Linked DNA regions of Homo sapiens: regions 1 and 3 are each linked to region 2. The links are contacts of gene promoters, found by promoter capture Hi-C in human tissues and cell types (Jung and others, 2019). All regions are on one chromosome and are shown on one strand. Each heading gives the region's core, a stretch centred on a gene start or on the middle of the fragment in contact. The rest is flanking DNA. Distances are from core to core; before and after follow the strand shown. Region 1 overlaps CYFIP2 (cytoplasmic FMR1 interacting protein 2). Region 2 holds the start of NIPAL4 (NIPA like domain containing 4). Region 3 overlaps CYFIP2 (cytoplasmic FMR1 interacting protein 2).

The links. The method cuts DNA at HindIII sites, captures the fragments that hold promoters and counts their contacts. A contact is called where the count stands out against the background at its distance.
Region 1: a fragment that was not itself captured here is called in contact with the fragment with the promoter of NIPAL4 in region 2 in 1 of the 25 tissues and cell types used here (thymus).
Region 3: a contact is called between a fragment that was not itself captured here and the fragment with the promoter of NIPAL4 in region 2, in 2 of the 25 tissues and cell types used here (mesendoderm cells and thymus).

What each region holds. Positions count from the first base shown.
Region 1 is chr5:157,268,323-157,271,564 of GRCh38, reverse strand. The region is part of intron 1 of CYFIP2 (cytoplasmic FMR1 interacting protein 2); the gene reads right to left. Among named protein-coding and RNA genes, the nearest start is that of CYFIP2, 3.8 kb to the right of the region's middle. The HindIII fragment of the contact is 6,073 bases long and covers 1-3,242 here.
Region 2 is chr5:157,458,643-157,461,910 of GRCh38, reverse strand. NIPAL4 (NIPA like domain containing 4) reads right to left here and starts at 1,698. Exons shown (of 6, transcript NM_001099287.2): 1 at 1,554-1,698. The coding sequence starts at 1,590. NIPAL4-DT (NIPAL4 divergent transcript) reads left to right here and starts at 1,811. Exons shown (of 3, transcript NR_136205.1): 1 at 1,811-1,903. RefSeq lists a silencer at 1,645-1,804. The HindIII fragment of the contact is 8,008 bases long and covers 36-3,268 here.
Region 3 is chr5:157,288,883-157,291,996 of GRCh38, reverse strand. The region is part of intron 3 of CYFIP2 (cytoplasmic FMR1 interacting protein 2); the gene reads right to left. Among named protein-coding and RNA genes, the nearest start is that of CYFIP2, 24 kb to the right of the region's middle. RefSeq lists a silencer at 285-334. The HindIII fragment of the contact is 6,760 bases long and covers 1-3,114 here.

The DNA of each region.
Region 1 (3,242 bases), core at 18-2,517, 190 kb after region 2:
CATTTTATTGTATGTGAGGCGAGGGTTCAAGATCTCTGTGTGATATTATTGCTTGCATGTTCATCTCTTCCCTTGAGTGGCAGGAATGGAGCAGAGTTGGGGGGTTGGCTGTGGGGGCTGATGTGTTCAGCATGTCAACATTGTCCATTTTGTGTACTAAAAAAACCACAACAGCAACCAGTTAAGAATCACTGGATTTGGGCCTCTCTCAGGACCCTCCCAACACTAAAGCAAATGACCATGACTACAGTTGAGACATTCCATCCAAAGGGCTTCCTTAAAGACATGTGTTAAGGATCATGCAGACCATTCTCTGTGGCCAAGGTATACAGGGCATAATAAACCTGTCCAAGGATACTCTTCCTTTGTGCCTTTGCTCAAACTGTCTCCACTCCCTTATGGACTGTCTTCTTCCCTTCTCAAATCTTACCGATCTATCATGGCCCACACGAAGACATGCCTTTTCCACAAAGGTCTGACCAGCCAAGCCCCTTAATGACCTTTATTTCTCTCACTCCCTTAGCACTCACAGTCTAGAGTCCACAGTTTTTAACTGCACGACAAACTGCTTTATATTTCACTAATTCTTTGGATTGCTAAGAATGCCAAGGATAGTCATCTTATCTGAGTTTGACCCATAGCAACCAGCACAGAGATAGGCACACACCAGGAATTACTTGCTTAATTAATACTTCATGAATGATTTGTTGACTGCATGAGCCAATGACCAAAATTCTTAACTTCTGGTTTAAAAAAATTAACAAGAAAGTTAAAATATCATGCTTCTCTAAGGTCCCATATCCAAGGCTGCCTTGTCAATATAAGAATCTGAGGAGAGTTCTTTAGAAAATCCTTCTGTCGTATAGTTTCCACTTCAAACCCTAAGAAGCAGGTCCTCATTTCTCTTTCCCATATGGAAGTATAACAGACTTGGAGATAGGGGGCTGACCTCTAGTTCTGAATTCTTATCTTGCCATTCATATCTTGCCAAAACAAATCTTAAAGCATCATATTTTAAAAGCACAAATCAAAAATAGTTCTCGGATATTCCTTAAGAGTTACTGCATGTCTTCTCTGAGGGTCAGCCCTGCAAATTCTCTTTGATCTCAGCCAGGCCTTCAGTGAAGTTAGACAATTCTCTCATTCTTCCCCAGTTTATTTCTTATTCCACCCACATAGGCAACTGTTCCAAACCCTGAAGTCTCCTGAAGTTTCCTAACCAGTCCATCACCTTTATTTCCTGCAGAGGACCTCACCTCCTGCCTTACTTAGAAAACAGAGAACATGGACAGACTAAACACACCTCTGTTTTACCTAGAGATTAAAGCCTAAGAACCATTGCTCTACAATGACCAAATAATGACGCAAACAGAATCAAAAGGTCTACTGATGAAGTCATCACTGGGTCTTTCTCAGGCATCTCGCAAGAAGGTCCTATTTACTTCCCTCTCTCACTGCCTGTATCTGAGTTGCCCAAAGTCTATCAAAATGCCACGCAACCAGAATGATCCCTGCAAGAAATTCTGCCTGAACTCAAGCTCTGCCTTCTCAAAACAATTTCTTTCAAGAATTTGCACCCTCTGTTGCCAGGGCCCAAGTATGGCTTAAATGGCTATTTTTTGAGGTACATCACACACAGCCCTTAGCATAATGCCCATGGCTAGAAAGCCAATATCTAAGCTCTTTGCATCCTGGGAGGCGTCCCATACCCACTGACTGAATTCTGAAGTGTCTTTGTACAGACAAGGCCATCCAGGGGCCTTGACAGAATCTGTGAATCACAAAGTGCCTTTAAGCTTCCCATTGGCTCAACAGTACAGAGAGGCCACAGATCCATCTTCTTAAAGTGACACACAATATATAATTAATAAATTGTTTCTTAAGGAATGGAGGGCATTTACCCAAAAGAGTCACACATTCAGGAGGCTCCTTCTCTATTTCCACGGCTTTTTTTTCTCAGACTGGGATTTACAGACATTACCTCATCCGCAGGCTTTCATGATGACAGGCAGGTAACAGTTGGGCAGGCTGCCTTCCATTGCTCAATTTTGAACGTCAGAGAGGTAGTGGCTGGTTTAAGGGCACACAGCAAGTCAGGGATCCTGTGTCCCATGCTCACTGTGCTGCTCTGTCTGCCCTGGAAGCAAAGCATGCCCTCAACATTTTTGGATGGTTGCAAAATGCTGAATTCTCACAGAGGAAGAGGCCCTTCCTTAACTCTACGTGTTGAAATGTGAGAATGGCCCTGGGCTTCTGCTTGGCTTGTTCCCTCCCACTTCTCCCTACCTACTCAGGTTCCACCCACCTCTCTTGTGCTACTTAAGAGCACTTCCCACCTGAAGCCTTTCACTTCATGCCCTATCACTCTTAACTTTCCCTTCCTTCGGCCGGTAAACTTGGGGCTGGGTTTACTGGTCACAGAGACCAACTTCCCTCAAAAAAGCAAAATTCAGGAAAGCTCTGGAGGGAGAGGGGCTGGTAATAGCCAAGGGTTGATTACATACATAAGCCAAATTCTTAATGATTATGTAATTAATACATTATAACAATAAATACATAAATATGCTAGTACTTACTATGTGCTAAGCATTCTGCTCGGCACTTTCATGCACCCCTTGGGTAGTAAGAGCATCCAAAGATATTCTAGTTCCTCCCCTGCCTCCATTCACTGCCAAGAAGGCAGCAGCCTGCCCCCCTTCTCCCACCATCTCACTACTGATGCAGGGGCCATCCCCTGGACCCTAGGCATGGCTTTGCTCCTCAGAATGACAGGACCAAAAGCCTTTCATAAAGACTCCAGTGAGGTGACTGATGTCTGGCTTTGTCAATTACAAGTGAATAATTAATACTTGCCAGTAAAGAAATAGACTCATTGTTACGGTGGCCACATGGAGGCTACAAAAGGCCATTTTGTGACGCTTTTGGTGGACCCCTGGGGCCAACAGTGGTCCAAAGAAGCTGCGTTGAGAGTGTAGTCCAATCTTTAAACGTAGGGACTGGGACCCGTACTGTTTTCCAGGAGCGCTTTTCCCGTTAATTAGCTTGTAGCCGATTCATCATCTCATTCAGCTTTCTGGTTGATGACAGCAGCAGAGGCCACTGAACATCAGAGAGGGCATGATTTATCAGAGGGGTCATGTAGTGTTCTACCAGGGCCTTTTACCGGTTTTTGAATTCATGTCTACTTCCTTCTCTGGGCCAGCATCTGATTTGAGTAAAACTCTCCAACCCCACTGGGTTGT
Region 2 (3,268 bases), core at 449-2,948:
GTTGACCTTTCTTCCACGACACAGACCCATGAATAACAGAGCTTGAAGAGCCCTTAGAAAGCAGTCTAAATTCTTATTTTTTCTGGGGAAACTGAGGCCCTGAGAAAGGGAAGAGCTTGCTTAAGTCACCCCAACATCTGGTGAAAGATCTGGATCCAGCACCCACTGGGGCACATCCATGTGTCTTTTGCAGTGTGATATCTCTCTTTCCAAAACTCGTGTCACAATCAAGGGAAGATGAGACAAGAGGCATCTCAGTCCCTAATCAGACTTGTTCTGCACTGCTCATTCCTGTTTCTCCAGCTCAGGCTTCCTTGCCCAAGAGCTGAATCTGGGGAGTTCCCTGAGCCCAGGAAATGAGCCAGAACCTGGGAGAACATGGGCTAGGGGAGGTGACTCCTGAGAGGAAGACCAAACTCATCCCCACGCCCTTCCCCTGCTCCCTGAAGGTGCACCTCTAGCAGATGGAGCCAACGAACCCTCTGTGGATGGACTTGGCTGTCACAGTAAAGCCCGCAACACCCAAGGGCTGAGCATCCTCCATTGAGTCAAGTTCTCCCACTGCAGTGAAAAGTAAAAGACAGAGGGCTGATGGCCAAAGTAATCCAATTCTGAGCATGGGCCAGATGATTCCTGTTATCTCTTCCAGAATATGCTAGGACTGGGGAACACATTCTGGCCTAGAGAAAAGGTGAGGCTGAAAATGCCTGCCTTGTTCAGGAAACCAAAGTCAGACACCTAACAGGCTGGCTTTGAAAGCTTCACTGTAGAAGGGAAGAGGTTAGAGAAACAGGGACATGCCACAGCCTGCAGTTCCAAGACAAGGTAGGAAAGTGGAGCCACACCAAGGAAGGAGTTGAGGTTTTACTGTCCACCAGCCTTGGATCTATATTCCATTTCCTCACTGTATTACCTTGAGCAAATTATTAGCTGCTCAGAGCCTCAGTTTCTGGATCTTTAGAGTGGGGATAGCAAGATAGTAAAATAATAATACCTACCTACCTTCTAGAGTTGTTTTAAGGATTCAGTGAGATAATGCGGGTAAAGGGCCTAGTCCACTACCTGCTTTATGGTCAGAACGCAATAGGAAGTCAGGGGTCTTTCTTTACCCCTTCCTGTGGTTCTTTTTCTTTTCCAAAGACAAGACCGTCCTGTGATGGTCCTCCCATTGACCCAGAGAGAAAGCCCAAACTGCGCAGGTACTAAAACCTGAAGCAACTACACATTAAAAACACAGAATCCTCCCCCCGCCCCCACCACCTCTCAGGGTGTCTGCTGTCGTCAAAATGCCTGCCCCCCACTAACCCCCCATCTCAACCCAGGGGACATACTTTCCTTCCCTGACTCCTCTCAGCCATCCCAGCTGCGAAGATGAAAGTGAAGTCTCAGCCAGAACCCAGATCTTCAAAGCTGGGTGGGAGCCACCTCGTGCTGGCCCTGCCCCTCCCCAGCTTTGGCCCCCCTGGGAGGAGAGGATGCGAGGGAGAGCGGTGGCAAGGAGGGGAGGGCGCGAAGCGCGGAGCCCGCCTGGTCCCCAGCCCTGCCGTACGCACCGTTCTCGCAGCTGGTGTTGCTGACCCGCAGCTCCATGGGGCCCGGGGCACACGAACCGACGCGCGGGCGGACGGCGCCCGGGCTCCCCAGCTCCGGAGCAGGTGGCCGCGACTTGTCCCCCGCGTGGCTCGCGCGCGAGAAGCCGCCGGGGTCCGGACCCAGGGGTGGGGAGAGTGACGCGTCCCAGAGTGGGAGAGTCCCCGGGGAGGAGTCACCCGGCATCTTGGGCAATTCCGGGGGCAGGGGGCCCAGGGCTGGGGCCGCCCGCAGAGGGGCGCATGCCTTCCTGGGGTGAGGACGCTGCCAGGCTCCCAGCTCTGGAGTCACCGCCCCGTGCTAGGGGCAAGAGGTGAGGAGGCGGGTTCCCCGGCACCGCTCCTCCGATGCCTGCACCGGCACCCAGCTCCATCCCCAGGGAAAGAGTACAGGGGACCTAGATGGCTGGAGAAGGGGCAACTTTCCTGCCGAGGTGGAAGTGGCAACATAGGGGTTGGAAGTGGGTACTGCTGCCAATTGGGAACCTGGGTTCCTTCTTTTCCTTCCTTCTCGCCCTCCTACCCTCCCCCTCTCCTTCCTCCCCTCCACCTTTCCTCCCTTCCTTCCATTTCACCCTCCTGCCCTTCCTCCCTGCCTTCTGCCCTGCGACCTCCTTTCCTTGCCTTACCCGTTCATTGATTCAACCCAGGTCTGATCTGTGCTGGTAGGTAACAGGTACATAGTGAGTTAATGCTCAATATATATTTATGTCTAATGAATAGATAATAGGAGCTTGGTAAATTAAATGAAAGAAGGAAATGAAGTGATTGGAGACCAAAATGAGTCAGACTATTCCCTGTCCCCCAAGTACCTTATATTTTAATGGGGGAAACAAAATGTGATCATCTCTTAGAGACCAATGTTTTTGAAATTACCACTTTAAAATTATTTATACACACACACACATACACACGTTGTGATGGAAAGCATATTTGTTACTATGGGTAACAGTAAAAAGCAAGTTAGAAAACCACTGACCTGGAGCATAAAAATAGGTATGTAGAGTTTGCTATAGGCCAGGCAGAGTTCTAAGTGCTGAAAAATTCCAGTTCATTTAATCTTCATGACCGCCTTATAATGTACAGACTTTTATTATTTACCAAAAGGAAACTGAGGCACAAAGTGCTCAAGTAACTTGCTGGGGATCTCAGCTGAGAAGCAGAAAAGCCAGGATCAAACTCGTGCTGTCAGTGGTCACATTAAGCCGCCTGGCATTTTACACTGAAATAAACTGCTCCTGGGCAGTGAGGGTGTGGGGCTACTGAGAAAGCAGTGATTGGTTCTGCCAGTGGTGCTCACCGGCTTCCTGGAGGAGGCAGCTTTTAAGAATTGTTATGTATGGAGTCGTCAGCATGGGCCAGACACTGTGCTAACCCCTTTCCAGGCACTGTCTCATCGAAGCCTCCTAGGAGACAGATATCCTTACTCTTTCCATGCTACAGATAAGAGGAAACTGTTATTTTTAAAAATTTTATCATGAGATAATTTTAGACTTATAGAAGAGTTACGAAAATAGTATAGAGAGTTCCCATATACCTGTCACCAGCTTCCCTTAATGTTAACATCTTGTATAGGAATAGAAAAAACTGTCCTTTAAATACTCTGAGACACTTGCTCCCAAGGTTGCACAGCTAGTGAACGAGGGTGCCAGGTGTAAACCGAGCTGCTCTGACCCCAA
Region 3 (3,114 bases), core at 114-2,613, 170 kb after region 2:
TAGTAGCCATGGCTGTATAACATTGTGAATATGCTGAAAACTACTGAATTGTACACTTCAAATGGAAATACACTTTGAAAAAAAAATCACCAAAGAAAGAATTTTACTAGGCCATCTCTTTTTATAAATGTTTATATCTATATTAAAAAATGAACTTTATTTTTAAATCCACATACCACCATTTCATAATATCTTATTAGTATAACAGCAGATCAATTTACTTATGACAGTTCTGTTTTCAGCAGCAAATGTCATTGACAAGTCACACTTCAATGATTAATTTAGAGAACTTTAAAAATCAGTAACATGTTGTCCTTGAGAACAGGGAGAACCAATCAAGCCCGTGGGTCCCGCAGTCATCTGCCTCAGAACACATGTCCAAAAGGGGAAGTGACAGTCACGTAAGGAACACGTGTCTACTTGTAGCACCAACCTGCCTGCCGACGGGTGTTAATTCCGACTCATGCATTCAGTGAATGTTTAACTGGGCACTCATGGGTCCCAGGCTCTGTGCTTTGTGCTGCAAACAGCGCAGTGAACAAGAAGAATGTGAACTCTGCCCTACGGACAGTTTGGCCATCAGCCAGATCTGTCATGCAATTATGCTAGAATGTAGAGGTTAGGATGGTGCAGTGGAAAGAGCCCTGGGTGGGGTCTTGGGAAACTTGAGTTCTGGTCCTCACTCTTCTTGGGCCCACCTTTTAACTTGTAATGTCTTAGTTTCCTTACTTGGAGGTAAAGAGTTGGCCTGAATCATTCGTGTTCAACCCTTGTTGTATATTAGAGTCACCTGGGGAATTTGATGCCTAAGCCATGCCCCAGATTAACTAAATATTTATCCCTGGGGATGGGGTGGGGCACTGGTGTTTTTAAACAATCCCCAGGTTGATTCTCTTGTGCAGCCCACATTGACAGCTTCAGGACTAAGGATCTCTAAGGTCCTTTACATTTCTAATATTCTGAAAGTCCATGACTTAAACCCAATGTGAGTGTAGCTCAAATTTTATGTAGTGACAGATCCAGTGATCACTCAGCCCCCATCTCACCCCAGCAAAGAACCCTCAACTCTTCCATATAGTTGGTCAGTTATGTGGTTTACGTACTTCCCCTCCTCCTCTTTTCTCTGGCTATCCTGTCCTTTGAGAGATTCACCTTGCCCAAGTGGGGACAGGAGACATACAAGAAGATGAGCATCTCATACACCCACATTGCTGCTAATAAGCTACCTTAGAAAGACTGGGGAAGGCACGAGGAAGACACTGTTGACTGAAGGGAGATTTTGGTGTTATCCAGGAATGTCAGCATTGCATGCCACTCATGACTCATGCCTAAGCCACATCAACACTCTCCCTGTGTAGGCAGAATAATGGTCCCCCCAAGATGTCTGTATCCTAATCCCTGGTGCCTGTGAATATGTTCCTTCACATGGAAAGAGGCAATTTGCTGATGTGACCAATTAAGAGCCTTGCAATGGGGGTAGGCGGGTGGTGGTGGTTGTTCTGGATTATCCTGGGGAGCCCAGTGTAAACACAAGGTACTCATAAGCAAAAGAGGGAGGCAGAAGAGTCAGAGAAGGAGATTTGAAGATGCAGGCAGAGATCAGAGTGATGTCACTGCTGGCTGGGGGCCACGAGTCAAGGAATGTAGACACCTCTAGAAGCTGGAAAAGGCAAGGGAACAGACTTTCTCCTGGAGCCTGCAGAAGGAATGCGGCCCTGCTGGCACCCTGATTTTAACTCAGTAAGACCCACGTCAGACTTCTGACCTACAAAACTATAAGCAAATAAATCAGTGTTCTTCTAAGCCACTAAGTTTGTGACACTCTATTAGGGCAGTAACAGAAAATGAACACTATCACTCTCCAACCTAACCCCTCCTTCCGACTGCTCTGTTGGTGTCTTGACCTGGTCTTCCTGGGAACTCAGTCAGTGCAGTCCCAGGTGACTGCTAAGCCAGTGTCCCTCACATCCATATCCTCTTAGCTGTACCCCAGTGCCATCACCCTCATTCAGCCTTGAATGCCTGCAGTGTAGATAACTTTAATTATCTTGACTAATTTATTTGCCTCATTCCTACTTGCAACTCATTCTACATATGACTAACACATGGAATCTGTCCCCCAAGCTGCGTTCTGTTCATATCTCTTTTAAGGATAAAGATTTTTCCATTGTTTTTAATTTTTTATTAAATAAACTAAAGCCTTCTGTTATGGGCTGAATTGTGTGCCCCCCAAATTTATAGGTTGAAGCCCTAACCCCACAGGACCTCAGAATGTGACTGTATTTGGAGACGGGGCCTTTAAAGAGGTAATTAAGTTAAAATGAGGCCATTAGAGAGGGCCCTGATCTAATCTGACTGGTGTCCTTATAAAAAGAGGAAATCTGGACACACAGAAAGAAGGTGCCAGAGATGTGTGCACACAGAGAAGAGACCATGTGAGGATGCAGAGAGAAACAGCCATCTGGGAGCCAAGGAAAAAAGTCTGAGGAAAAACCGAACCTACAGACACCTTGATCTTGGACTTCTAATCTCCGGAACGGGGAGGAAATACATTTTTGCTGTTTAAGCCATTTAGTCTGTGGCACTTTGTTAAGGTATCCAAGCCAACGAATACACCCTCTATGCCCCGACCCTTTATTTGTAGGGAATCTGTAAACAATATCCCTATATGCACTTTACAGTCCATACCAGTCACTCCTCGAAAATCCTTGCCCTGTGCCTTTGCTCACACCAGCTCTTCCACATGGTGTGCTCTCCCCGTCTCATCTCTGACTGGTAAAATTCTAACTGTGTGAGACAGCACGGAACAGGAGAAAGAGATCAGGACTGGCAATCAGTCCTGGATTTCAGGTCCAGTCCTGTGATTTACTGGTTGTGGGATCATGAGCAACCTGCTTATTAACTTTTCTAGGCCTCAGTTTTCTCATCCCTAAAATGGATATAATGATCCCTTTGCAAGTCACAGGGCTGTTATAAAGCTCCAATAATATAATATATGAAAATGCCTTACATATATTTTAAAGTATACTGTATCTACAAGGTATCATTATCCTCCTACAAGGCCTCACACAAAAGCCACTTCCTACATCAAGCTTTCTCTGACTCTCTCAAGGT